Linked DNA regions of Homo sapiens: all the other regions are linked to region 7. The links are contacts of gene promoters, found by promoter capture Hi-C in blood cells and fetal thymus (Javierre and others, 2016). All regions are on one chromosome and are shown on one strand. The core of a region is centred on a gene start or on the middle of the fragment in contact, and the rest is flanking DNA. Distances in the headings are between cores, read along the strand shown.

Region 1 (3,840 bases), core at 297-2,796, 590 kb before region 7:
GCCTGGCAGCAGGGCAGGCAGCTGGCTGGGGCCCAGACTCCCAGGAGGATGCCACTGCTGCCCAGACCTACTGCAGTGCACAGCAGAGCGGCAAGGGCCCCTGGTGCGTTGAGCAAACTTCCAGGCTTAAAAAGAGCGTGGCTGCCTCATCCCTCCACCACCCAGAGCTGGCTCAGGCCACGTGTGACCCACCCTACCCTTAACAAGGCAGCTCCGGGAGTCCTGGAAGATGAACATCCCGCTCAGCTAGGGCGACACTGTGCCAATCCCTCCCATGGGCTTCCACCTGTACCTCTTGTTTTCTACACAGCTTTATTGAAATATAATTCACATACTATAAAATTCACTGTTTTAACTGTACCATTCAGGGGCTTTTAGTATATTCACAGAAGCATGCCTCCCTCAGCACCCCCAAAAACAACTCCCCGCTTTAGTATATTCGCAGAGGCGTGCCACCCGCAGCACCCCCAAAAACAACTCCCCACTTTATTCGCAGAGGCGTGCCTCCCGCAGCACCCCCAAAAACAACTCCCCGCTTTAGTATATTCGCAGAGGTGTGCCTCCCGCAGCACCCCCAAAAACAACTCCCCGCTTTAGTATATTCGCAGAGGTGTGCCTCCCGCAGCACCCCCAAAAACAATTCCCCGCTTTATTCACAGAGGCATGCCACCCGCAGCACCCCCAAAAACAACTCCCCGCTTTAGTATATTCAGAGGCGTGCCACCCGCAGCACCCCCAAAAACAACTCCCTGCTTCAGTATATTCACAGAGGCGTGCCTCCCGCAGCACCCCCAAAAACAACTCCCTGCTTTAGTATATTCAGAGGCGTGCCTCCCTCAGCACCCCCAAAAACAACTCCCCGCTTTAGTATATTCACAGAGGCGTGCCACCCGCAGCACCCCCAAAAACAACTCCCCGCTTCAGTATATTCACAGAGGCGTGCCACCCGCAGCACCCCCAAAAACAACTCCCCGCTTTATTCACAGAGGCGTGCCACCCGCAGCACCCCCAAAAACAACTCCCCACTTTATTCGCAGAGGTGTGCCTCCCGCAGCACCCCCAAAAACAACTCCCCGCTTTATTCACAGAGGCGTGCCACCCGCAGCACCCCCAAAAACAACTCCCCGCTTTAGTATATTCAGAGGCGTGCCACCCGCAGCACCCCCAAAAACAACTCCCCGCTTTAGTATATTCAGAGGCGTGCCACCCGCAGCACCCCCAAAAACAACTCCCTGCTTCAGTATATTCACAGAGGCGTGCCTCCCGCAGCACCCCCAAAAACAACTCCCTGCTTTAGTATATTCAGAGGCGTGCCTCCCTCAGCACCCCCAAAAACAACTCCCCGCTTTAGTATATTCACAGAGGCGTGCCACCCGCAGCACCCCCAAAAACAACTCCCCGCTTCAGTATATTCACAGAGGCGTGCCACCCGCAGCACCCCCAAAAACAACTCCCCGCTTTATTCACAGAGGCGTGCCACCCGCAGCACCCCCAAAAACAACTCCCCACTTTATTCGCAGAGGCGTGCCTCCCTCAGCACCCCCAAAAACAACTCCCCGCTTTAGTATATTCACAGAGGCGTGCCACCCGCAGCACCCCCAAAAACAACTCCCCGCTTTAGTATATTCAGAGGCGTGCCACCCGCAGCACCCCCAAAAACAACTCCCCGCTTTAGTATATTCAGAGGCGTGCCACCCGCAGCACCCCCAAAAACAACTCCCCGCTTTAGTATATTCGCAGAGGCGTGCCACCCGCAGCACCCCCAAAAACAACTCCCCGCTTTAGTATATTCAGAGGCGTGCCTCCCTCAGCACCCCCAAAAACAACTCCCCGCTTCAGTATATTCACAGAGGCGTGCCACCCGCAGCACCCCCAAAAACAACTCCCTACTTCAGTATATTCACAGAGGCGTGCCACCCGCAGCACCCCCAAAAACAACTCCCCGCTTTAGTATATTCACAGAGGCGTGCCTCCCTCAGCACCCCCAAAAACAACTCCCCGCTTTAGTATTTTCACAGAGGCGTGCCACCCGCAGCACCCCCAAAAACAACTCCCCACTCACTAGCAGCCGCTCCCCTTGCCCCAGCCTCTGCCAAACACTGACCCACTTCCCACCTCCATGGAGTTGCACGTTCTGGACATTTCATACAAATGGGGTCCTCTGATTCCCCACCCACAATTTTTAATCATACTTAACTTCCAAATAAAGACAAAGTCAAATCCCTCTTCCACCCAACAAGATGTGGCCAAGCGTATACAAGAGAACAGCATGTCCCCCTCTCCCCCAGAGAAGAGGAGAGCCCCTGATCCTGATTCATCTCTGGGTGTTCTTCCCCTTAAAAAAAAAAAAAAAAAATCAAAGGGGGAATAGGATTCAGCTGGAATGGGATTCAGCTGATTCTCATTCTCCCTTTGATATCCTAATTTTTTTTTTTTTTTTTTTTTTTTTTTTTTGAGACAGACTCTGTCAGCCAGGCTGGAGTGCAGTAGTGCAATCTCGGCTCACTGCAACCTCCACCTCCTGGGTTCAAGCAATTCTCCTGCCTCAGCCTCTCACATAGCTGGGATAACAGGCACGGGCCATCACGCCCGGCTAATTTTTGTATTTTTAGTAGAGACGGGGTTTCACCACATTGGCCAGGCTGGTCTCAAACTCCTGACCTCAGGTGATTCGCCTGCCTCAGCCTCCCAAAGTGCTAAGATTACATGCCTGAGCCACCGTGCCCAGCCTGATAGCCTAAAATTTAAACACTGAGATGTTTGAAATAATTAAATATCAACTACTATCAAACGTACACTTCATACACTAGTACCGTATGAAGTGGTAGGGAATGGAAGAGGAGAAGAAACAGTGGCTAATGTGGTCCTACCCAATACACTCGGATCAAAATAAGAAACACGCACACCTGTGATAGGCTTCGTTTCTGCAGCAGCCGAGCAGCGGGAACTAGCGTTTCAGCCTCCGTCTCCCGCATAGCCTTCGCCTCCGCAAGCACTCAGCTGATGTGGCTCTTTGCCTGGTGGGATGCCCTAAGCCTTCATTCCTGGAGAGCCTGGGTCCTGAATGACCCTGCTTGGATCAGGGGTGATGGTTTTCCATGATTTTAATCACAGGACATGGGAACCTTAAGAGGCGCTGCAGGGGACCCTCCGCATTCCAGACGTGCTCCTCCTCATCCTCCTTGTGCAACCCGGCCGATTCCGCCCGATAAAATCAGTCCCGTGGCCCGGGCAGTAACTGCCTTTTTTACCTATTGATTCTCTGCAGTGAGGATCCCAAAATGGCCTGGTGCAATCTCACCTTCCAGTCTGGTGGAGCCGTTGGTGTCTCTGCGGGAAACTCTCCTCCCTCGAGAACTCAGACTTCTACACCAAGAGGACCTAGAGTTGTGGGGACAGGGAGCAAACACATCACCAGCAGAATGTCATGAGGGTGAAGAGAAGCCATTGCCACTTCCCCTTCTGGACTCCCAGAACCGTGAGGTCTGGGCGGCAGGAGAAACCGCTCCATAGACTGACTCTAATTCAGAGCCTGGACCGCCTCCTGGAGGACACGGCCCTCTCTGCAAAGCGTCCCCACTCAGCAGGCGCCGTGTGAGTCTCCCGAAGGCCATTCCACGGTCCTGTTCGTGAGCTGCTTCGGGGAGAGGAGGACCACGGAAGACCTCCAAGGTCACAAGCATTGGGCCTTTGCCCTACTCCATTAACTGTGGTGAATTCCTTGAGCAGCAGTGTGAGAATGCCGAATGAGGCGCTCCAGAGTCCACAGGTGGTTTCGGCAAAAGCACCGTGGGCAAGGAGGGCCAGTCCACCTGCAGAGCAAGCCTCTATCCTGGTGAA
Region 2 (3,791 bases), core at 1,250-3,749, 620 kb before region 7:
CTCACATAAGCAAAGGAGAGCGTGCACAAGGCGCCAAATGTATATCCACCCTCACTCGTCCCCCCACTTGAGTAGCGCATCCACGATGCCCACAGACACCAGGCCACACAGAAAAGGTGCCAGGGACCCACAGCAGTGCAAGGCAGCGTGTCACACCTACGCATGAGCAAGCCGGGCGCTGATGGCCACCGAGCAGCCACGTTTTCCATTCAAATCCGCACTTGCTAAGGATGCAGCAGGAAGCCAGTGGTGTTCTAACAAACGTGCAGGACCCGGGAACCTGTCATGTCCTTTCTTACTTGTGCGACTTCTCTGTGTTAGCCGAGGTCTCTTGCTGATGGATCTACCCACAGTGCCTTTTGTCTTTGAACTTGTCCCTTCCCTCCTTCCTCGCCCATCAGCGAGCAGGAGGTGGAGGGTGCTGGTGGAACAAGCCTGCGTCAAGGAGTGAAATCAGCTGATTTCATTTTTGTGCAGTTTCCACTGTTCTAGTAGCAAATGAAATAGAGACGCCTGTGCCAGGACAAAACACACACTGTGTCATTCCAGTGATTCCGCATAGAAGTTAAATGCTCTTATGCTTGCATTTTAAACTGGCATCACATAATATAAAGATGGATAACTACATTCACGCTAGTCACTTAAATTCCTAATCTTTCTTACTCAGAATGGCATTAAATAGTGAGTATAAAATAAGAAGTATAAAATAGTAAGTCAAGAGGTTGACTATAGAAGAAAGAAAAATGCTTTATATTTTAGCACCTTGAACATGACATCACGATCACCTTCTCCCTGGAATCAGTTTCTAACTTCCAGGTGGGGACTAGGCCTGGACCATGAGCTCCTAGCAGAGCCCTGCTGCCCCCACAGCAGAGCCCAGGACAGGCTGGCACCTGGGCCAGGTGAGGCTCTGTCCAGGCTCACTGATCTCAAATGCTGAACTGCTAAGGATGTCATGTCCCCAAAGGAGCCGCCAGGCTCAGCCTCACTTCCTGGAAGGCGTGAACATTGCAAGAATGTGGAAGTGAAAGAGTCCAGGGCTTAAATCTCAATTCTCATCATTTTCAAGCTGAGTCCAAGGGAGAGAAGACAGTCATGGATTCTTAGTTTCTGTTTCTGGTTGAGCCAGCAGGGTCCCTTCCTCATCCCTCTTTTCTGCTTATCACTAGAGACAGAAACTAAAACCATGACTTTAGGCTGCTGAGAGCCTAAAACAAAACGACAGCAAGAGAAGGTGGGTTGGACCAGCTTGCCTGTGACTTCAGGCACTTCATCTTTACTGGGCACTGGGTGAATGACAGTGTGGGGAGGGGTCTTCATAACACGGCAATCAGCAGCCCACTGTGCCCAGGAGACTCGCCTGTGGTCCTGGTTATCAACCACAGCCCTTTCCAGTCTCAAAAATGTCCCCGCTGGGACAGCAAGTTACATCGTCGCTACAAGTCCTGTCTCCTGGGAGATGCAGTCCAGCAGCACTACATCCTCTGAGCAGCAGGTGCCAAGTGGGATGAACTGGATAAGGACTGCATTCGGGGAAACGCCCGTGTGAAAGGAAATACACAGGAAGGAGGTGGCAACGGGTGGGAAGCCACTAGACCACGACGCGATTCTGCCCCAGTGAAGGCGAGGGGATAGCCTGGGCCTAGATCGCTGTGAGGTCTATGGAAGTTTCCACAAGCTTGCTGGGTAGTTCTCGAGGCAAACTCGGAAAGGGAGTCCCTTGTCTCCCTGGAACGGATCTTTCTTGGCATCTCTGTCACACTCATTAGGTGGGCCTGGTGTCAACCCCATTTGCAGGCCACCCCAAACTTGATCAAAGGTCCGCTTCTGGCACCCCATACCCTGTCCTACAGGAAATACAGGGACAGGCTCCCAATAACAACACCCAGCACGGTGCCATCAACACCACCACGCACACGGGGGCTCAACGGAACAGACATCTCCGCTTCTTCAATGAAGACACTGGAGGGAAATTGCTTACAAGGCGCTTAAGAGACCTATTAAGCAAACTTGATGTGTGGACCTGCGGCGGATCCCGATTCTATAAGGCCAACTGCACAAAACCACGAGACCCCCTGAGGACTGCGCCATTGGCTGGGTCCCCGATGATATGAAAGAACGGTGGTTCATTTGAGCGGGTGATGTTTTTGCGGTTTCCTTTAGAGGCACACGTGAAACATGACGGGTGAAAGGATTCAAAGTCTGGGATTTGCTTCAAAGCAACGCAGGGATGGCGTGGGGGATGGATGGGGCAGGAAGGGCCTTGAAACTGGTGCTGGAGGCTTCCCAGGGCTGCCCTGGAGCCCAGTGCGTCCTCCACCGGCCAGACTGTACAACGGTTGGATCCTGTGTCCACTGCTAGGACCCAGGCTCCACGAGCACGGGCTTGTGTGGCACACGGATGCACCCTAAGTCCTGGCACAGAGACTGCTCAACAAAGGCCTCGGTGCTTTTGTGTATGTTTGAAATTTTCCATAATAAAATGAAAAATGGGAAAATGGGAAAACAAAAATGGCAGCACTACTTACCCTCTGCAGAGTTTTGTCCGCTTCACGCCAGTGGGTGGCAGTCGTTTCCTCTGCCCTGGCCTTCCATCGTTTCCCCCCTACCCTCTTCACCCACCCAACAGCCCCCTGTGGTCCTGGCAGCTGTGGGCCTTTCCTTGAGGTCAAGGTGTGGAGTCCTGGGGAGGGCTCAGGGAGGCCACCGACCCGGGTGTGGATTCTGGGAGAAGCCTGTGGGATGTCCCTCCCTGGGTGACCACGGCAATGTGCCCCCTCCTGTCCCTTGGCCAAGGCCAGTTCCCTGAGCCCTGCAGCCCCAAGCCACAGCTGGTCCACTGACCCCAGTTGAGCCTGGTCCTCATCAGACCAGCTGACCCCTTTGACCCCCGCTACAGACTCGGCTTTGACCTTGGCTGCTGAGGAGCCCCCACCTGGACTGAGGCTGCAGCTGGCGAGAGAGGAGCCCTGAGCTCCTCTGATAAGAAGGGACCTGGCCAGCCTGACGTTTGAGACCCAGGCATCCCGGTAGCCTGGGTGTCCTGTTGCCGTGGTTATTCAGGAGCCACCCACTCTGGGACAACACCAGCTGCTCCCACCTCGCAGGGCTCCCACGGCTCTGTCCCAACCACTCCTTTCTGAAGGAAGGGGTGCCTCTGCGCCCTAAAGAAACCGGGGGAGCCCCACAACCCCTCCCCCACCAGGACACTAAAAGGCAGCTTTCGGTACAGTGAGACATCAAAGCCTCCTAGGCCCTGAGTCAAAGGTATAGCCGTGTAATATCCCAGTGCCAGCTCTCCGGCTGCGGGGAGCCTGGCGCAAAGCTTCCAAGCCTTCCTTGTTCCTTTCAAGAGCCGCTCTTAGAATTCAGGTGAGCGGAGACCTGCAGGGCCTCCCCAGTGCGGGCAAAACCCAAAGCTAGCGAGAGGGCAGCCTCCAGGCACCTCTCACTAACTCCTCCCAGAGGCCGTTGAGGTGGGTCTGGTCAAACCCATTTGCAAGTTAACCCACTTGCCCTGGGCTGCCCAGCTGCCACGTTAGTGGAGATCTGAGCGTGGTGGCCTGCGCAGGAGCCCATGCCCTCAGCCCCACAGCCGGTGCTCTCTGGTCAGACCACCTCAGCCTAGCCCCACACCCAGCACTTACCCCAGCCCTCGGGATGGGTCAGCAGCCTCCAGCCTGCAGCTTCCAAGCCAGCGAGTAGCCCTGTCTGGACAACCCACCAGCCCACCACCTCCTGGAGGATGCCCCCAGCCTCACAAGGTGTCCCAATGGCTCCGCTATCAACGG
Region 3 (3,537 bases), core at 408-2,907, 560 kb before region 7:
TACGTCATAGAAATTGATTGCTCACAGTTCCAGAGGCTGGGAATCCTGCACTGCAGGTGATGTCTCGAGAGGACCTTCTTGCCGCGTCCTCACATGGCAGAAAGGGAAAGGGCACACAGGCACCGAGCTCATTCCTCGCCCTTTTCTAAAGCACTGATCCCACCCAGGAGGGCGGAGCCCCCACGGCCTCATCGCCTTCCAAAGGCCCCACCTCTCACTACCGTTGCGTTGGGGACTTTTCAACATGAATTTTGGAGGGACACAAATATTCAGACCACAGTAAGCCATGACTAATGCACACAGAAAACTGAAGTTTCAGGATGTATTTGCTCTCATTCCTCTCCATCAACTCAATGGCAGCTGTCAGAAGGCTCTCAGACTTGAATGGGCCTTAATCCCATCTTTGTCTTCTGTTGATCGGTCCAAGTCAGGCATTTTATTGGGCCTTTGTCTCCCAAAGCTTGTTAAAATCCTAACTCTTGGAGCAGTTGGTTTTTCTGCCCTTGCGGTGCTCTGAATTTCTGGATCCATCTCTCTGTTCACTTTCATCTCTGCTTGTAAGCTGGGCCTTCTTTCTCAAGCTGGTCTCCGTCTCGTGTTGCGGGACCTAACACAAAACTCGCAATGTGGTGTTTTCCCACTTCGCCCCTTATGCTCCTGGCTGAGCCTTCTTGTATTCAGCCTGCCAGGTCACCAGGAGTGATTTTAGCAAGTTTGCTGCTCCAGCTCCACCAAGTCCCCATCACTCGGGCCCCCGGTGCCTGCTCTCTTGGCAGCAGCTGGGTTTGGGGGTTCCGACTGCTACCACAATACAGCCTGGCCTGTCCTGACTAATACAGAAGCAGGCTCTGTGAAGGAGGGTGCTGCCATAAGAAGAAACGCAAATTAACACGTATCTACACAGTCTCCGTGGTGCACAACAGTCAGCTTTTCCTGCTTATGTGTCTGGGCTCTGCTTGACTGATCTTGGCTGGGTGCATTCCCAAGACAGCAAGTCGTGGCTGGCCTCGGGCACAGGAAAGGGCGAGAGACTGGGGTCACAGATACAATCTAGCATAGGGGGACAGATAACTCAATGTTTAAATTCATAGGGTGCTGGACCAAGAGAGGGCATATCCAAACCTGATGTGCTCATCCATCGGAGATGCTGGGTCTGGAGAGGGTGTAGTGACTGGGTGGACTTTGGCAGGTCAACAGAGGGGTGGATGGCGGAACAGACGATACCATGTGTTCACCACACTGTTTCTTCCTCCTAGGCAAATGGAAAGACTGCATTTCCCAGTCACCTCTATGGTTAGTGTGGTTGCATGAGGGTCATGTGACCGAGTTCTGACCTGTGGGATATGGGAGGAAGCAACGTAAGCTACTTCCCAATCGCCCTTCCCTTTCCAAGGTGACCTTACAGGACACACGTTCCCAAAGTCAGCTCAAAGATGAAGAGTCACTTGACCACCATATGCAAGTGAAAAATAACCCCGAGACCTCAGGGGGTATTTGTTAACTGCAACGTAGCCTACTTTCAAAGCATGGTTCCTGGACCAGCTGCATCACCCGGGAATGCGGTAGAAATGCAGATTCTCAGGCCCTGCCCAGGCCTCCCAAATTAAGGATGCTGGGGTGGAGCCTAGCAATCTGCGTCTAAAAAGCTCTCCAGGGCAATCTGAAGGCTGTTCCTGGCCAGGCACAGTGGCTCATGTCTGTAATCCCAGCACTTTGGGATTACTTGAGAGGACCTTCTTGCCGTGTCCTCACATGGCAGAAAATGAAAGGGCACACAGGGGGATCGAGGCGGGTGGATCACTTGAAGTCAGGAGTTGGAGACAAGCCTGGCCAACATGATGAAACCCCATCTCTATTAAAAATACAAAAATTAGCCAGGTGTGGTGGTGCATGCCTATAGTCCTAGCTACTCAGGAGGCCGAGGCAGGAGAATTGCTTGAACCCAGGAGGTGGAGGTTGCAGTGAGCCGAGATCGTACCACTACGCTCCCGCCTGGGCGACAGAGCCAGATTCCATCTCAAAATAAATAAATAAATAAAGGCTGTTCCAACTATATAGGAGTTCAGGATACTGGCAAGGGTGTGATTAAAGTGAAGGACCAGGTGTTCCCAGCTGTGCAGGCAAAGAAGTGCAGTGAGGAAAGCATGCAGTACGGCTGCGTAGAGCACTCCCAGCAAAGCAGGTGGGCAAAGCAAACACACAGGGCCTGGAGGTGTGGAAGGGGTGCAAGGTTTGGACTTTAAATCTCAGAGAGGAAGCAACCCAAAATTAAAGAGACCCCAGGGATGGTGATGGGCACAGTGGGGCAGATGAAGTTCACTGGACAGGGGAGGTCAGGGGCCTAGGGGCCGTGGTGTGGGGTTGCTTGTCCCAGCTGGGATGGACACAGGAATTGGGCTGGAGAAGATGTACATGAGGTGGTCTTGTCTAAACCCTGCACATCCAGCTCCAAGCATGCAGGTAAATTCCCCCGGAACCAACTCCCATGCCAACGTCAGACTCGAACAAGTCCAAGGATGCTGAGTAACAGTCAGGGTTCTCCAGAGAAACCGAGTCAGTAAGATGTGTACATACACACAGAGAGAGATTATTGTAAGGACTTGGCTCACACAATTACAGAGGCTGAGCAGTCCCAAGATCCGTAGTTGGGAACCTTGGAGACCCAGGAGGACTGATGGTGTAAGCTCCCGTCTGAAAGGCAGCAGGCTCAAGACCCAAGGAGAGCCAATGTTTCAGTTTGAGTTTGAAGACAGGAAAAAACCAATGTCCCAGCTCACCCAGGTAAGAGGACTTCCCTCTTATTTGTCACGCGCCTCTGTGTGAAGAGACCACCAAATAGGTTTTGTGTGAGCAATGAAGCTTTTTAATCACCTGGGTGCAGGCAGACTGGGTCCAAAAAAGGAGTCAGCAAAGGGAGATAGGGGTGGGGCAGTTTTATAGGATTTGGGTAGGTAGTGGAAAATTACAGTTAAAGGGGGTTTTTCTTTTGTGGGCAGGGGCGGGGGGGTTACAAAGTGCTCGGTGGGGACCTTCTGATACTCATTGACCAGGAGAAGGAATTTCACAAGGTCAATTGATTAGTTAGGGTGGGGCAGGAACAAATCACCATGGTGGAATGTCATCAGTTAAGGCAGCAACTGTCTACTTTCACTTCTTTTGTGGTTCTTCAGTTGCTTCAGGCCATCTGGATGTATACATGCAGGCTTGGGCTCAGAACCCTGACACCACTCAGCCATTTTGTTCTATGCAGGCCTTCAGTGGGTGGGATGAGGCCCTCTAGAAAATAAAAGGTTTCGCTCTCCCTCTCCCTCTCCTTCTCCCTCTCCGTCTCCCTCTCCCTCTCCCCACGGTCTCCCTCTCATGCGGAGCCGAAGCTGGACTGTACTGCTGCCATCTCGGCTCACTGCAACCTCCCTGCCTGATTCTCCTGCCTCAGCCTGCCGAGTGCCTGCGATTGCAGGCACGCGCCACCACGCCTGACTGGTTTTGGTGGAGACGGGATTTTGCTGTGATGGCCGGGCCGGTCTCCAGCCCCTA
Region 4 (3,494 bases), core at 655-3,154, 520 kb before region 7:
GGGCTCAGGAAACTTACAATCATGGCGGAAGGCAAAGGAGGAGCTGGCACTTCACGTGGCCGGAGCAGGAGGAAGCCCAGAGGGAGAGAGGGGAGGTGCCATATGCCTTTAAACAAGCAGGTCTCATGAGAACTCACTATCACGAGAACAGCACTGGGGGGAAATCCACCCCCATGAGCCAATCACCTCCAGCAGGCCCCACCTCCAGCATTGGGGATTACAATTCAACATGAGATTTAGGCAGGTACACAGATCCAAACCGTATCAGGGTGTGGCCTAATGGTGATACACTGGGGAGACTTGGCCTGTGGTCTTAGTCCATCGTGTGCTGTTAGAACAGAAAACCACAGACTGGCTAACTTATTGGCCCCTGGTCCTAGAGGCTGGGAGGTCCGAGATCGACAGGCCACCTCTGGCAAGGGTCTTTGTGCTGCCTTATCCCATGACAGAAGGGCAAAGAGAGGGAGAGAGAGACAGCCAGAGAGAAGGGGACCAAACTCATCCTTCTGTCAGAGCCCGCTCCCACGACAATGATGTTAGTCCATCATGATTACAGAGATGGGGGACACATTCAGACCACAGCAGCCCCCTCAACCCGCACACACTGCACATTGAGGGGAGGGCCGGGAGACTGGAAGGAAACATCAGAGTCTGGAGAAGACCACCAGGATCACCAGGGCTATGCTCTCACCCGGCACCCAGCACCGAGGGGCTCATGGGAAACAAGACGGGTCTCTCGGTGCACGAGTGCTGGGCACACATAGTCCACCGTGCATCCTGGGCTGATGATCTGGACCCTGGTCCTGTGCAGCCCTGGGGTGGGGCTCCAGGCTGAGATCAGCCACGTCTGGGGGAGGAGACAGTGTTCCCAGTCTCACCTTGCCCCACGGACTCTGACAGGGGTTGAAGAAGCAAGGAGGCTCCAAGGACTGGGGAGGGGGAGTCTGGCCGACGATCTAGGAGCATCAAGGCGCCTGCTCCCTCTCGGCGTGGCCCGGTCCTGTAGGTGGTCAGTTATGCAATGCCACTGCCTTCCTACCTCACAAGGAGGGTGGGTGGACTCAGAAGCCAGGCCCAGGCTTCCTTCTTGGCTCAGGCAAGGAACATAGGGGGCTTTGAGCTTTGCTTATTCATTTAACAACTGAACCCCTAGTCTGTGCCAGGCCCCCATTTAAATGGTCCCTGGGATACAGCAGGGTCCAGAATGGGCCCAGACCCTGCCCCCATAGCTGACCTTCTGGAGAGCCTGAGGAGTGAGGGGTGCCCTCCAGGCACGGCAGACGGGGCAGGCTCTGCATTCGGGGGCTCCAGCTGCTTTCCCACCACCCACCCACTCCACCCGAGCCCTTCTGGGTCAGCTGGGCTCCTGGCTCTGCCCGCCTGGGGTGCAAGACGCCAAGTTCCTTCCTGGACAGTGAGAGAACCATGCCAAAAAGAAATGAAAGGAAGGCAGACGGCGAGATGAGGGAGAGGGTGGGCACCCAGCCAGGGACCGCAGAGACGAGGAGGAGGCACAGAGACCCACTGTCCCCAGCCACTGCCAGTGAGGCTGGCCCAGGGCCAGGGGCTGGGCGTCCCTGGCATGCATGTGGCTCCCAGTGCCCCCACGTCCAACAGGAGTGGGGCGGCCCCCTCTTCTGCCACATCCCCATCCCACCTCCCATTCCATTCACTGGTCTCATTTTTAAGTTTTTCTCTCCCAGTTATTCAGGATTGATTTGGAGAGCAGAGCGATGGCTGCAGGTGGCTCTTCATTTTCCTTCACCTAAGAAGCAAACCATCATCCACCCCAAGCTTGTCTCTCCAGCCTGCCCCCTACATGAGGACAACCTCCCTCCTCTTCCACGGTGGCGCTGTTCCCACTGGAGGCCCAGGCTTGGCCATCCGTTCATTCTTGGAGTCCTCAAGAGATTGTCAGCTCTGCAGTGGGGAGCAGCCGCTGTCAAAGACCCTGGAACTTCCTCCCTGCTGCGTCCACCAACCCCCACTGCCCGCTGGGCACTCCCAACCTGAAACAAGCTTGCTCGCTGCAAAAGCCTCACCTCTGACCCAACTTCCCACTCCCAGGATACCCAACCTGGCCTTCCCTCTGGATACCCCTGTGGGCTCCCCTCTGCTGATGGGTTCCCCTCTCCAGCTGTGGCTTCCCTCTGCTGATGGGGTCCCCTCTCCAGCTGGGGCTCCCTCCACTGATGGGGTTCCCTCTACAGCTGTGGCTCTCTCCACTGATGGGGTCCCCTCTCCAGCTGGGGCTCCCTCCACTGATGTGGTCCCCTCTTCAGCTTGGGCTCCCTCCACTGATGGGGTCCCCTCTTCAGCTGGGGCTCCTCTCCACTGACAGGGTCTCCTTTCCATCTGGGGCTCCCTTGGCTGATGAAGTCCCTTCTCCAGGTGAGGCTGCTCTCTGCTGACAGGGTCCCCTCTCCAGCTAGGTCTCCTCTCTGTTGATAGGGTCCCCTCTCCGGGTGGGCTCCCCTCTGCTGACGGGGTCCTCTGATGGGGTCCCTACTCCAGGGGGGCTCCCCTCCATAGATGAGCTCCCCTTCCTGGGTTGGGTGACCCCTCCGCCCTATCTGTGTCTGCAGGTTGGGGCTAGGCAGTGCTGGCCAGCATCTGACAACCTCCCCTTTCTGTTCTTGGGCACTGCTCACTTATTCAGGTCTCAGCCAGGCAGCCCCTCCAATGGTAATCTTCAGAGTCCCCTTCAGCAACACAGCTTCCCCTCTGTGGCCCAGCTCATGCTGAAGTAAACAAGGCAATGTCATTAACGGCTGGTATCAGCTTGTACGGGGAACCAGTGGCCCCAGAAGCCTCTGGGGAGGCCCAGGCTGTGAGGATCAGGGGTCCGGAAGAGCCTCTAGAGCGGGAGAAAGAGGCCTCAGGGGTCCCTCCTCACAGGGGATGGTGACAACACGGTAGGGAATGGAGGGGTCAGGGCTGGGTCCAGGACACGGTGACCCTGGCCAGAAAAGGCCGGGCCTGGCTGGCACCCGCACGAAGGGAACGGAGCCAGTGTGGAAAAGCAGGCCCGCGTCCTCTTCTGCACTCCCAGCCCCTTTAAACTACACACAGCTTGTAGGAAGGGGATCAGAGGCCCCTGGGCGTCCCATGGCTATGCTGCACCTGGGGACATGAAGCCTAGGGTAGCTCAGCCAGCTCTGGTCACGGCTGACAGACAGCCTCACCCCAACAGCCTCACCCATCCCTCCTCAGGGAACAGGGTCCTAACAAGCTGCTTTCCCCATCCCAGTGTTGAACAAAAACTCATGGGTTTAGACAAGAGTGAAGGTGACTCCTCCACCACCCATCCCACCTCCAGCAGGCAGCCACCCCCAAAATTATTGATTTATTAATAAATCAATGACAGGTGCCAGCCAGCCCCACCTGTCCCCAACCTGCAAATGCAGACAGGGGTCACTTGGTCCAGGGAGAGGAGACCCTCAGTGGAGGGGAGACACCCTGGAGAGGGGACCCCATCAGCAAAGGGGAGCCCC
Region 5 (3,903 bases), core at 890-3,389, 670 kb before region 7:
TCACATAGCCTGGGCTTCCCTGGTGTTCCAGGCAGCTGAGGAGTTTGAGGTCTGAGTGCCCTGGGGTAGAGCGGGATGGCAAGCCAGGTGCCAAGCAGAAAACGGGGTCACTCCCCCGCTGCCTGTGAGCAGCCCTGAGAAGAAGCTGGCAGCTGTCCACACCTCACGCCAAGGCTGGCTGGCCCCATGTTCCAGAAATCACCCGTCCCAGGCTGCCTCGCTCGCCGCGCTTCTCAGCCTGTCCACCTGGAGTGCTGGAGGCTGTGCCCAGTCCTGGTCCGGCATGGCCTGGCCCTTTTTCTTCCTGGTAGGGAGCTCAGCGGCTGGCCAATGGGCAGCAGAGGGGGCAGCAGACAGCCAGGGCACAAGGAGGCGGCGGCAGGGCAGGCCCAGGCCAGTGGAGGCAGAAGCCGCAAGCTGGGAGCGGAGAGGATGGCGGAGTCTGGCAAGCACCCAACAGGTGGCAGAGACAGAGCCTGGCCCGGTGGACAGTGCAGGTGGGGGGGCACCAGTGTAGACGGGCAGGGCGGCCAAATGAGAGGAGCCCAGACACACACAGAGGCAGACAGGGCCACGCTGCAAAGGCTGGAGACACTGCCAGCTCAGGACTGGGCACGGAGCGGGGCAAGGTGACCACCCTGTCAGAGCAGGGCAGGGGCCCTACTCAGGAGATGGAGAGAAGGCGAAGGGCTGGGGGACCCCCTCTGGCCCCAGGCATGGCCGGCCCCTTGCCTCATGGCCAGGCTGATGCCTTCCCAGCCCAGGCTGGGCGGGGGCCGAGCATGAATGTGGCCCCATGGCCAAGGGTAAGGCAGAGTCAGGGCCCCAGGTCACCCACCCCACAGCCACTCGGCCTTCTCTCAGGTCCCCAGACTGCCTCCTCACCCCCTGTCGGCCCACAGGCCTGGACCTCCCTCCTGCCTGCCCTCCTCCCTGCCCTGGCTGCCCACGCTCCTCTCCAGGGATCAAGTCCGCCCCAGCCACCCTGGCCCTGCTTCCCAGGGGGTGGGCTCCAGCCTTGGCACTTGCACACCTGAGGACCACGCACTCACTCCCTCCTGAGCCCATTCTGACAGGGAAAGTCCCGTAACAGGGTCCAAGCCTAGGACTTCCGCCCAGCCTGCCTGGCTCCCGCTCTGTGGACACCCGAGACCAGGGTCTCTTGTCTGTCCTGCCTGAGGTCCCTCTGTCTCATCTCCAAGACCCCAGAGGCCCCTGGAGGAGGTTTCTCAGGAGCAGAGAATGAGTATTAGTGGTAGCTATGAAGGGGTCCTAGGCCCGGCCGCCCAAACCCACTCCTCCCCAGGCAGATCTTCAGCCAGTGGCTAGGGCAGCAGGAGAGCCACTCTCACCAGCCCTCTGGCCACTGTGGCCTCTGCCCAGCTCTAACAGCCCACCCTGCTCCGCAGCTGTGCCCTTGCGTCCTGTCACAGGGGACCCCGGCGGGAAGGGCAGGGCCTGAGCCGGTCTGCGCTACCCATGGAGGTTGGCCTCGTTCTTCTTGCTGTGGTCCAGCCCCTCTGGAGCCCATGGGCCCACCTCCCAGGCCCCGTCCTGCGGGGACTCCCACCTTGGATGTGGACAGGACCTCCTGGCTCACTTCTAACCAATAGGATGAGGCAGAAGTGACAACATTGCTTCCAAGCTTAGGTCACAAAAGGACGTGGTTTTTGCCTGCTTTCATTTGATGATCTTGAAGGAGTCTGCCCTGCCCACAAGGGCTTGGCCGGGCAGCAAGGACTGCGCTCCATCTGTCTGTCCAGTCCCTCCCTGCGTGTCCCTGAGGTAGCTCCTGGAGGACAGTGGCTGGCACCTTGTCAGGGTCCACACCTGGTTGATGCAAGAAGGCACAGGTGAGCCCAGTCCACGCAGCTCCACACGGGTCAGAACCGGGCTGTCTGCTGGGCAGGCAGGTGCATCCACCTGTGTCCAATCACATTTGGAAAGTGGAAAGGGAAATGGTGGCCTGCAAAAGGCATTGGTGCCCCTCAGACCCCAGGGCCGAGGTCCCTGGGCAGCCCGGCCCACAGACCCATCACCCTGCACTGCCAGCCGAGGCTGCTGGCCCTGGGCTCAGTACTCTGGCCATGGCTGGGCTCATGTCGAGACCTCCCTTCCCCTGACTTCCATGCTCAGGGCTCCTTCGTGCAGGTCCAGGGATGTGGTGGAGGCCCGAGGTACAGGGACAAGGTTGCAGGCAGCGCTGGTGGGGCAAGTGCCAGGGCCCAGGCCGTTTCATGCAAAGACACCCACTGGAGAACGGAGGCCCTAGGTGCAGGCCCTGGCATGACCCTTTCCTTCACTGGAGGAGGACTCATGTTAAAAAGGACCTGCCAAGGGGACATAGACAGAGGAGCTGTAGATAAAAAGCTCCTGAGCCAACCAGGTTCCAGGCAGCCCAGGAGCCAAGGGGTGGGGGGAGCAGGATGCCCTGGGGACACACTGCCCTGTGCAGCCCGGCCTCTGTGCCTGGGCAAACAGCAAAGCCTCAGTGAGCGGGCTGCAGGCAAGGGAGGCCCCATGGCCCAGGGAGGTTTATGGCCTCCCAGCAGAGCACCCGGCCCCAGCAGCTGGCCTGGCCCCTGCACCTGTCCCTTTGTTTGCACAAATCCCGTCCCTAATAGTCTTAATCGCAAAGCTTTGATGACTGTGCCAGACCCTGCACAGGCCCCTGCGGACTGCGCTGAACAAACACGCCATTGTCTCCGGGTGCACCGCAGGCGACCAGTTAATGGTTAAACCAAGGGGAGAAGGATGGCAGCTCTGCCTGAGGCCAGGGTGGGGGAGCTGCCTGGCGTGGTGTGGGCACCAGCTCCCCCCACCCCACAAGGGCACAGTCGTCCTACACTGGGGCTCCCAGTGGGCAGAGAGAGCACACGGCTTCTCCCCTGTTTTAGAACTAGCCTCCCAGCAACCCTGGAGCCGGGAGACAAGTCCAGAGGAAGCTGCTGGAGTCCCCAGCAAGACACCTGCCCCGACCCCTCCACACCAGGCAGGCGCCCAGGCTGTGGGAGCTGCTCAGACGCTTGAGAGCCGGCCACTCTCTGTGTACTCCAGACCCACGGGCCAGGAGTGGGCATGCAGTTAGAGCCCCGTGAGCAAGCCTCACACAGCTGTGGGACGTCAGCAGCACAGCTGCCATGGGAAATGCCCTGGCCGGTCCACGCAGGCCGGTTACCCCCAGCACTACCGTGTGACCAGCAATCCCACCCCAGGTCTATCCCCAGAAGTGAAAGCAGGGACTCAGGCAGACACGTGCACACCCATGTTCCCGGCAGCATCACTCACCAGAGGCAACAGGTGGAAACGACCCCGGCATGCACCAACCACGAAAACGACGAGCCCAGGCCGGGCATGGTGTCTCACGCCTATAATCCCAGCACTTTGGGAGGCCGAGGCGGGTGGATCACGAGGTCAGGAGATCGAGACCATCCTGGCTAACACGGTGAAACCCCGTCTCTACTAAAAATACAAAAAATTAGCCAGGCGCGATGGCAGGCGCCTGTAGTCCCAGCTACTGGGGAGGCTGAGGCAGGAGAATGGCGTGAACCCGGGAGGCGGAGCTTGCAGTGAGCAGAGATCGCACCACTGCACTCTAGCCTGGGCGACAGAGTGACACTCCGTCTCAAAAAAAAAAAAAAGACGAGCCCACTGTGGTCTGCCTGTACAATGGAACATTATTGGGCCATGCGAGGAATGATGGACAGATGCAGGCTGCAGCATGGACAGGCCTCACCAACGCCACATTCGGTGGAAGAGGCCGGGCACACAACGCCGCGTGGTGATGGACTCCCTTTATATGAAATGTCCAGAATAGGCAAATCCATAGGGACAAAAATAGATGGGTGGCCGCCCAGGGAGGGGGGTGGTGGAGACGGGGAGTGACCGCTCAGTGACAGGGTT
Region 6 (3,433 bases), core at 293-2,792, 710 kb before region 7:
CAGGAAGGAGCTGCCCCCACAGGGCCCCAGTGAACAACCCCCCTACCCTCCTGGCTGCCGCACAGGGGACCCTTTCTCACACTCCCATCAGGACACCTGTCCTCGGGCCCTGCCCCTCTGTGCCACCCCGCAGGCGCCCGCTCCTGGCTGCCTTGTCATCCCTCCACCCTTTGTCATAGCTCTGGGCGCAGGTGTCTCTCCCTGGGCTCAGCGCCTCTGACCCCTCGATCCCAGAGCCGTCCCAGGCCTGGACAGAGGGGGACTTGGCAGACACCTGGGGCTCATCCCTTGGAGCTGAACTCCCAAGAAGGCTCTGGGCCCCTTGTAAGAGAAGAATCAGCTTCATCCTGAGCTTCCAGGGTTGTGGAACATGAAGGGGAGCAGCAGAAGCCCCTCCCAGAGTCCCCTCTTACTTACCCTTGGGGTGGGGGTGTAGGATGCAGCTGGGGCTGCAGTTCCAGGCCACGGAGAGCCTGTGAGGCTGGGCCCCGGGGCGCCCTGGGGAGGGGATGCCTGATGGGGAGCCTGGTGGGGGAGGGTAGGGGAGGGCGGGGGAGGACGGGGGAGGGCGCCCTGTGTCCCTGAGAAGGTACCTGGAAATGACACTGCTACAACTCACACCACATTTCAATCAAGGTCCATAAATAAAAACCCATTTTAAATGTGCCAGGGAGCCCAAGGTTCTGAGTGCCCAAGGAGGCACCGAAGACCCCTCCTGTGGGCTGAAAAGCTCCCGATTATCCAGCCTGGCCCACACAGTCCCCTGTACACAGGGCTTCCGAGTGCAGGTCACAGGGAACACAGACTCCATGGTGAATGAATGAATGAATGAATGAATGAATGAGGGAAATAAGGGAGGAACAGGCCAATGGGAATCACCCCAGAGCCCAGATACCCTTTGAATTTTGCCCCCTATTTGCCCAGGACCCCCCACCATGAGCTGCTGCTAGAGCCTGGGAAGGGCCTTGGGGCTGCCTCCCCAAGCAGGCAGGCTGGTTGGGGTGCTGACTAGGGCAGCTGGGGCAGAGGGAGGCAGGGGCAGGTGGGAGTAGGGTGGGGGCTGGGTGCAGCAGCCGGGGACCTCTGGCCATCTTGGATTTTTTGGATGGATTTGTTTCCACATTCCGATCGTTAAGATTCAAGATGAAACAAGACACAGAGACCCACACGACCCCCGAGAGAGGTCGGCCTAAGAGGGGCACACACAGGGACAGGCATCACCTCACCCTCCCCCAACAGGGACTCAAACACCAGGCACAGGGGATGCCGCTGTGCCCAGGCCTCCACATCCACGCCGCGTCCCAGGGGTTTGCATGGACCCTGAGCCTGGGGCTGCCAGCCAGGCTGGGGAGTAGCAGAGGCAGCTGGCACCAGCCCTGGGCTCCGGTCCACTGCGGCCGCCGGGCACCTACCTGCCCTCTTACCATGATGGCCTCTGCCTGCTTGGCGTCCAGCTCAGACACGGCCCTGCGGAAGCCCTTGGCCTGTGGCGTGGTGGCGTCGGGGGTGGGCATGGCTCAGTGTGGAGGTCCGGGCTCCGTCTCCACAGCCCTGGCCCAGCAGCCTCTTATAAGCTGAGCTGACGTCAAAGCCCCCTCTGGGTCCCCCACCTTCCCCTCCTTACATCCCCCACCCCTGCCTGCTGTGCCTGATGGAGGCGGGGGTGGGTGAGGAAGGAGGGAGGCGCAGGAGAAAGGGCTCGTCCGTGGAATCTAATTGCCTTCACTCCCCAGCCCTGTCTGAATCATCCTCAGCCCGCGGGCTTGCGGGGACCAGGGGCTCGTGCTCTGCGGGGGGCTGAGACAGCCAGGGTCCCCTTGGCCCCACAGCCCTCAAGAGAGCACACAGGGAGGGGCTTTCTGGCAGCCCAGGGGCACACTTTTAATGAACACCAGAACCTCGTGGCAGACCGACCCAGAAAGCCCCAAGACGGGGAATCCAGCCTCCAGCCTCAGATGTCAGGAGGCAATTTGTTTGCTTCTCCAGAAGATTCCAGGCCGTGTGTCTCATAGACGTGGTTCCTAGGAGTGCCATCTGCCCACAGCCCCCGGGCCCTGCAGGTGTGGCCCTTGCAGCGGCTTCCCAAGCTCGCCCCGTGGGGTCCAGAATGTCCCAGGAGGGCCCACCTGTCCAGTGTGGAGGACCCTGGGAGGCTGAAGAAGACATCTCTAAGGAGACGCCACGCGTTTCCAAATGGCTGCCACCTCCTGCATCACAGTCCCCACCAGGGTTGCCAGGGCGACCAGGGCCAGGGACGGCTTCCACCCACCCCACTCAGCCCCTCTATGGCCCACTGCTAGCTCCTGGCTTCCCTCGGGGTCCTGTGGCCCCTTCTTTAAAGAGCACGCACGTCCCTCAGTGCTGAGGGCCCTGATGCCTTCCCCTTGGAGAGACCTTTGCAGTTTCTCCTCTACCCCACCAGGCCCCGGGTTGAGGGTGACCCTGGGGTGACCTGAGAACTCCCTTGAGGACAACCCCAGCCTAGAGCCTCCCCCAAGTTCCATGTCCGCCCCGCAGGCACCCGCATCCAGCCCACGCCCACTGGCACCTCCTGCTCCCAGCCGCTGCCCCACCCAGGGAGAGTGATGCCCCTGCCCAGGGTGGCTTCTGGCCCTTCTGGTGGAAGGGGAGGCCTCCCCATCCCTCTGGGGTCAGCAGAGATGGCCAGAGCCTGCCTTGACAATGCTGGACTGTACAGAGGGAAGGACGTGGCCCCAGAGTGCATGGCCTGCGGCTGAACGCTGCCACCGCTGTCCCTCCTGGAGAAGAACCGTTTCCGACAGGGCTTGGGGCTTCCTGTATCTGCTGGGCTTTCTGGTGTTGGCAGCCCAAGATGACACCCTGGGCCCAGCAGGAGCCAGAAGCCCTAGACGCTCCCTGACTTCTCGAAGGCCTACCCCGGCTGGTCACTGTGGCAGCCAGAGCTGGCATCTCTCAGGGCCCACTCTGCTCCTGTCAGCTGTGGGACTCCCCGCTCCCCGTTCTCTCTTCAACAATAGCCCCTGGGACCTTTCCTAAAACTGCTTCAGCCATGGCATCCCTGTCCCACACCCCTCCGTGGCTCCTCGCTGCCCTCTGCAGGCAGGCTGAGTGCTCAGTCAAAGCAAAGGGAAGACCCCCCAACCCTTCCCACTTCCTGGCCCAGAAGGATTTGGGGCTCCGTGATCCCCGGTTTGCAGTGTCATTCCTCACCCACCTCTTATCCGGGTGAACTCCTATGCATCCCACAAAACCCAGTTCCGTCGCTGCTCACTCTGCAATGCCTGCCCTTTCTTGCCACGATATTAATGCCCCTCCCTTGCGCTCCTCTGGAACATCCCTGGGGGCAGGGAAGCCTACCGCTCGGCCCCTGCTGTCTCTCAGCACCCAGTGCAGACCCTGTCCTCTCTCGGAGATGCTATGCCCCTCCACAGTGTTCCCCAAAGGCCTCCAC
Region 7 (3,372 bases), core at 78-2,577:
CGGCCGGGATTCAGCCTCCCACCCCGCCCGCGCGAAGCCGCTGGAGGGCACAACAACGGGGCGGGGAGGGGGGTAAGGGCGCAGCCGCGCCCTGAGCGCTGCGGGCCCTTTAATGCCACGGGAGGAGGCGGGAACCCAGCGAGGCCCCCGAGGGCTGGGGGGACCGGCCGGCCGGACAAAGCGGGGCCGGGCCGGGCCGGGGCGGGGCCGTGCGGGGCTCACCGGAGATCAGAGGCCCGGACAGCTTCTTGATCGCCGCGCCGTTGGCGCTGGCGGCCGCGGTGCCGGCCGCGGGACGTCCCGAAATCCCCGAGTGCAGCTGGTCAGCGAGAGGCTCCTGGCCGCGCTGCCCCTGGTTCGCGCCCTGCTCGGCGCTCTCTTGAGGCGCCGCGTCCGGGGCCGGGGCCGGGGCGGGGGCCGGGGCCGGGGCCGGGGCCGGGGCTGGGGCCGGGGCCGCGACTGGAGCCGGGGCCGGAGCCGGAGCCGGAGCCGGGGCCGGGGCCGGGGCCAGGACCGCGACCGCGACCGGAGCCGCGACCGGAGCCGCGACCGGAGCCGGAGCCGGGGCCGGGGCTGGAGCCAGGACCGGGACTGGGGGCGGGGTGGACGCCGGGGCCGGGACCGGGACACTAGGCAGCTGCTCCGGCGCCTCCTCGAGGCCGTCGAGGGACTCAGCGGCCGGCTCGAGGGGCGGGCTGACAGCCACCGCGACCGCGACGGGCCGCGGCGCCAGCAGCAGGCGGCAGCGCCCCACCTGCACCGTCTCGCGGTAGAACGCGGGCACCGAGTCGCTGTCCACTTCGGTCCACTGCAGGCGTCCAGGGCCCCGCAGCGGCATGTCCTGCTGGAAGTCGTAATCCCAGCGGTTCTGGTCCTCGGCGTTCAGCTCGGCCAGGCGGGCCTGCAGCTCGCGGCTCAGCTCCTCGTGGTCCACCGGCCCGAAGAGGCTGCGGCAGGCGCTGGTGCGCACTAGTACTGGGAAGGTCCCACGGGCGACAAGACGCTCCATCGTGGATGTGCTGCGGAGGGACGCGTCGGACATGGCCCGGGGCTGCGCAAACGCGGGCAGCGAGAGAGGAGAGGACAGCGAGAAGAAGGGGAAAGGAGAGGAGGAGAGGGCGGAGGCCGGGCGCAAGGGAGACCCCGCGCCGCCCGACTCTGCGTGTGCGAGGGACGCGGCGGCTACCTGGCTGTCCGGTGGTGGACTCTTCTGCGTCGGGTTCGCCTGTCTCGTCCGGACGGCAGCCGCGCCCCCTCGATGCCTGCTGGCTAGCTCGCTCGCTCAGGCCTGGCCGGCACCCCTCGAGCACAGCGCACTTGGCCTGTGGAACGCCCAGCCCGCCTGCGCCCCCTTTATACGCGCGGGCCCCACCCCCGTGCGCGCGGGCCCGGCCGCGATTAGCATAATGTAGTATTTTCAGTTTCAACAACACCACGGCGATTGGCGGCCGCCCCGCTGCCCCGCCCCGCCGCGGCCCGGCCCCCGCGCACCGCCCATTGGCCGCGCGCACACCCACCGGGGGCGGGGCGGGGCGCGCGGCCGGGGCGCGCGGCTGATTGGCGGCCGCGGGGCGAGCGCGCTGTAGCAGGGGAAGGGGGCGGTGAGCGGGGCGGGGGCGGGAGTTAAAGGGCGCTGCGGGCGGTAACGTGACACCGCGACGCCCGCCCCCTCGCCCCATCCCCCCTGCAACACTCCCCCACCCCCCCGGCTCCCGCCCCCCGCCGGCTCCTTTGTCTGCAGGCGGGGGCCTCAGCCCAGCGCGGCAGGGGCCGGCTCCTGGCGGGTCCGGTGTCCGGCCAGGCCCAACTCGACCCCGGCCCGGTCCGGACCCCGGCGCCCAGCTCCGTCCCGCGCTCGCCCGTGGGCCTCCTGCGCCAGCTGACGAGGCTTGGACCCGCCGCTGCCAGCTCGGCCCTGGCCTGCGCCGGATGGGGTCTTCGGCTGCCCCCGCGCGGCCTGCTGCTGCTGGGCTGGTGTCCCTTCGAGGGCTCCGCGCGCCTGGAGCCCTCACACACCTGCTGGCCCTAAGGCCCTCGAGTCGGGAGGGGGGACAGGGGTCAGCTCCACTCTTTCCCCGAGGGACCATGTGTGGGACACCTTGAGAGACTCCCACCAGCCCCCTGGAGCTGGAGTCTGAAGCCGCTATCTGCGGAGGCCCACCCTGCCCAGTAGATGGAACAGGGGCTGAGCCCATCATGTCACTGTCGGGGGTCCCAGCCCTTCTCAGCCTTGGGCCAGACCACTCCAGCCCCGGGATCTGCCTGTCCAGGCTGGCTGGAAGCTGTTGTACTGGGTAAAAGTGAAAGATCTGCCCGAGGTCATAGGGGAAGGGGCTGTGAAGGACCATGCCCCTCCCCCGCCTGCAGCCCTTCCTGGTACAGACCTCGGTCGTGCGCGCACGCACACACACACACACACACACACGCACGCACACACACGGTGCTTCACCCCAGCCAGGCCAGACCAAAAGAGACCATTATTTCCTGCTGCCTCCCTTTTGGCCCACCTACCATGAGGCAGGGAGCCCCCTCCTCAAACCAGGAGCCTCCCAGATCGGGATGGGGACTGTCAGACACCTGTTGGAGGGTCCAGCAGCCCATGAGATCTAAGCCCCTATCTCAGGTGAGCCTGTGAGCCAGCAGAGAGACCTCTGGGAGGGAGGGAAGGTGCGGTCCCCTGAACCCCAACCAGCCTGCCTTTGAGTCCCAAGACACCCCCACCCCCATGGAATGCTGTGGCAGTGTGCAGCTGCAGCTGGGGGAGCAGGGCGGGTCTTCTGGGTCTCAGGGAAGCGAGATCTGAAGTGAGGGGGGTGAACTGGATGGGACAGGGCGTTAACCCAGGAGAGGGGCCAGGGCCATTCTTGGCTCTTGATGGTGGAACCAAAAGCCATGATTTATGTGCAATTTCATATTCTTCTCTGTGCACAATTTACAAATTTCCCGCAACAAGCCCAGATGTCACAATTTTCATCTTAGGAAAACAAAGAGAAGCTGAAGAAGGCTCCCCAGGCCCTGCGAACCCCTCAAGCAGGGCTCATATCAACTGGCCTGGGGGCAGAAAGAGGCAAAGTCTAGTCTGCTCCATGCCCCTATGCTGCCACCTCCCCAGAGACTAGGAGCAAAGGGCTAGAGTGGGTAGTGACCTAGAGGCCCCCGGATACCCACACTCCAACCATCAGGACTCATTGGCCTTGGTGACACCACTCAGAGGGTGTAGCTGCCATCATCCTGTGTTATAGAAGAGCAGCAGAGACCGCGTCAGCCGCTGAGGCCGCACAGCTGGAAGGAAGCAGGGCTCAGAACTCCCGGGCTGCCTGGCTTTCTGGTTTGGTTTCCACTTAGGTTTCCTACTTTTATTTTTCCACTTTA

What was found. The method cuts DNA at HindIII sites, captures the fragments that hold promoters and counts their contacts. A CHiCAGO score of 5 or more calls a contact.
Region 1: a fragment that was not itself captured here is called in contact with the fragment with the promoter of CDKN1C in region 7 in 1 of 17 cell types (total B cells); the score reaches 5.4 in total B cells.
Region 2: a fragment that was not itself captured here is called in contact with the fragment with the promoter of CDKN1C in region 7 in 1 of 17 cell types (M0 macrophages); the score reaches 5.2 in M0 macrophages.
Region 3: a fragment that was not itself captured here is called in contact with the fragment with the promoter of CDKN1C in region 7 in 1 of 17 cell types (M1 macrophages); the score reaches 5.2 in M1 macrophages.
Region 4: a fragment that was not itself captured here is called in contact with the fragment with the promoter of CDKN1C in region 7 in 2 of 17 cell types (naive B cells and total CD4 T cells); the score reaches 6.0 in naive B cells.
Region 5: a contact is called between a fragment that was not itself captured here and the fragment with the promoter of CDKN1C in region 7, in 1 of 17 cell types (naive B cells). The highest score is 6.1, in naive B cells.
Region 6: a contact is called between the fragment with the promoter of TH here and the fragment with the promoter of CDKN1C in region 7, in 4 of 17 cell types (total B cells, naive B cells, M0 macrophages and 1 more). The highest score is 7.6, in total B cells.

Annotation. Positions count from the first base shown.
Region 1 is chr11:2,290,619-2,294,458 of GRCh38, forward strand. No RefSeq gene overlaps it. Among named protein-coding and RNA genes, the nearest start is that of C11orf21, 9.4 kb to the right of the region's middle. The HindIII fragment of the contact is 7,512 bases long and covers 1-3,840 here.
Region 2 is chr11:2,264,587-2,268,377 of GRCh38, forward strand. No RefSeq gene overlaps it. Among named protein-coding and RNA genes, the nearest start is that of ASCL2, 4.1 kb to the right of the region's middle. The HindIII fragment of the contact is 1,647 bases long and covers 1,677-3,323 here.
Region 3 is chr11:2,328,441-2,331,977 of GRCh38, forward strand. It overlaps CD81-AS1 (CD81 antisense RNA 1), which reads right to left. Exons shown (of 3, transcript NR_108080.1): 2 at 1,123-1,334; 3 at 309-863. Among named protein-coding and RNA genes, the nearest start is that of TSPAN32, 28 kb to the left of the region's middle. RefSeq lists an enhancer at 139-640. The HindIII fragment of the contact is 2,399 bases long and covers 459-2,857 here.
Region 4 is chr11:2,364,984-2,368,477 of GRCh38, forward strand. The region is part of intron 1 of CD81-AS1 (CD81 antisense RNA 1); the gene reads right to left. Among named protein-coding and RNA genes, the nearest start is that of CD81, 11 kb to the right of the region's middle. The HindIII fragment of the contact is 225 bases long and covers 1,793-2,017 here.
Region 5 is chr11:2,208,639-2,212,541 of GRCh38, forward strand. No RefSeq gene overlaps it. Among named protein-coding and RNA genes, the nearest start is that of MIR4686, 38 kb to the left of the region's middle. RefSeq lists an enhancer at 3,775-3,903. The HindIII fragment of the contact is 993 bases long and covers 1,644-2,636 here.
Region 6 is chr11:2,170,273-2,173,705 of GRCh38, forward strand. It overlaps TH (tyrosine hydroxylase), which reads right to left and starts at 1,543. Exons shown (of 13, transcript NM_000360.4): 1 at 1,425-1,543. The coding sequence starts at 1,514. MIR4686 (microRNA 4686) reads left to right here and starts at 2,791; the gene lies at 2,791-2,866. The HindIII fragment of the contact is 9,589 bases long and covers 1-3,433 here.
Region 7 is chr11:2,884,448-2,887,819 of GRCh38, forward strand. It overlaps CDKN1C (cyclin dependent kinase inhibitor 1C), which reads right to left and starts at 1,328. Exons shown (of 4, transcript NM_001122630.2): 1 at 1,187-1,328; 2 at 223-1,019. The coding sequence starts at 1,009. SLC67A1-AS (SLC67A1 antisense RNA) reads right to left here. Exons shown (of 3, transcript NR_169305.1): 3 at 2,897-3,372. RefSeq lists enhancers at 318-1,153, 1,154-1,989, 1,990-2,825. The HindIII fragment of the contact is 9,568 bases long and covers 1-3,372 here.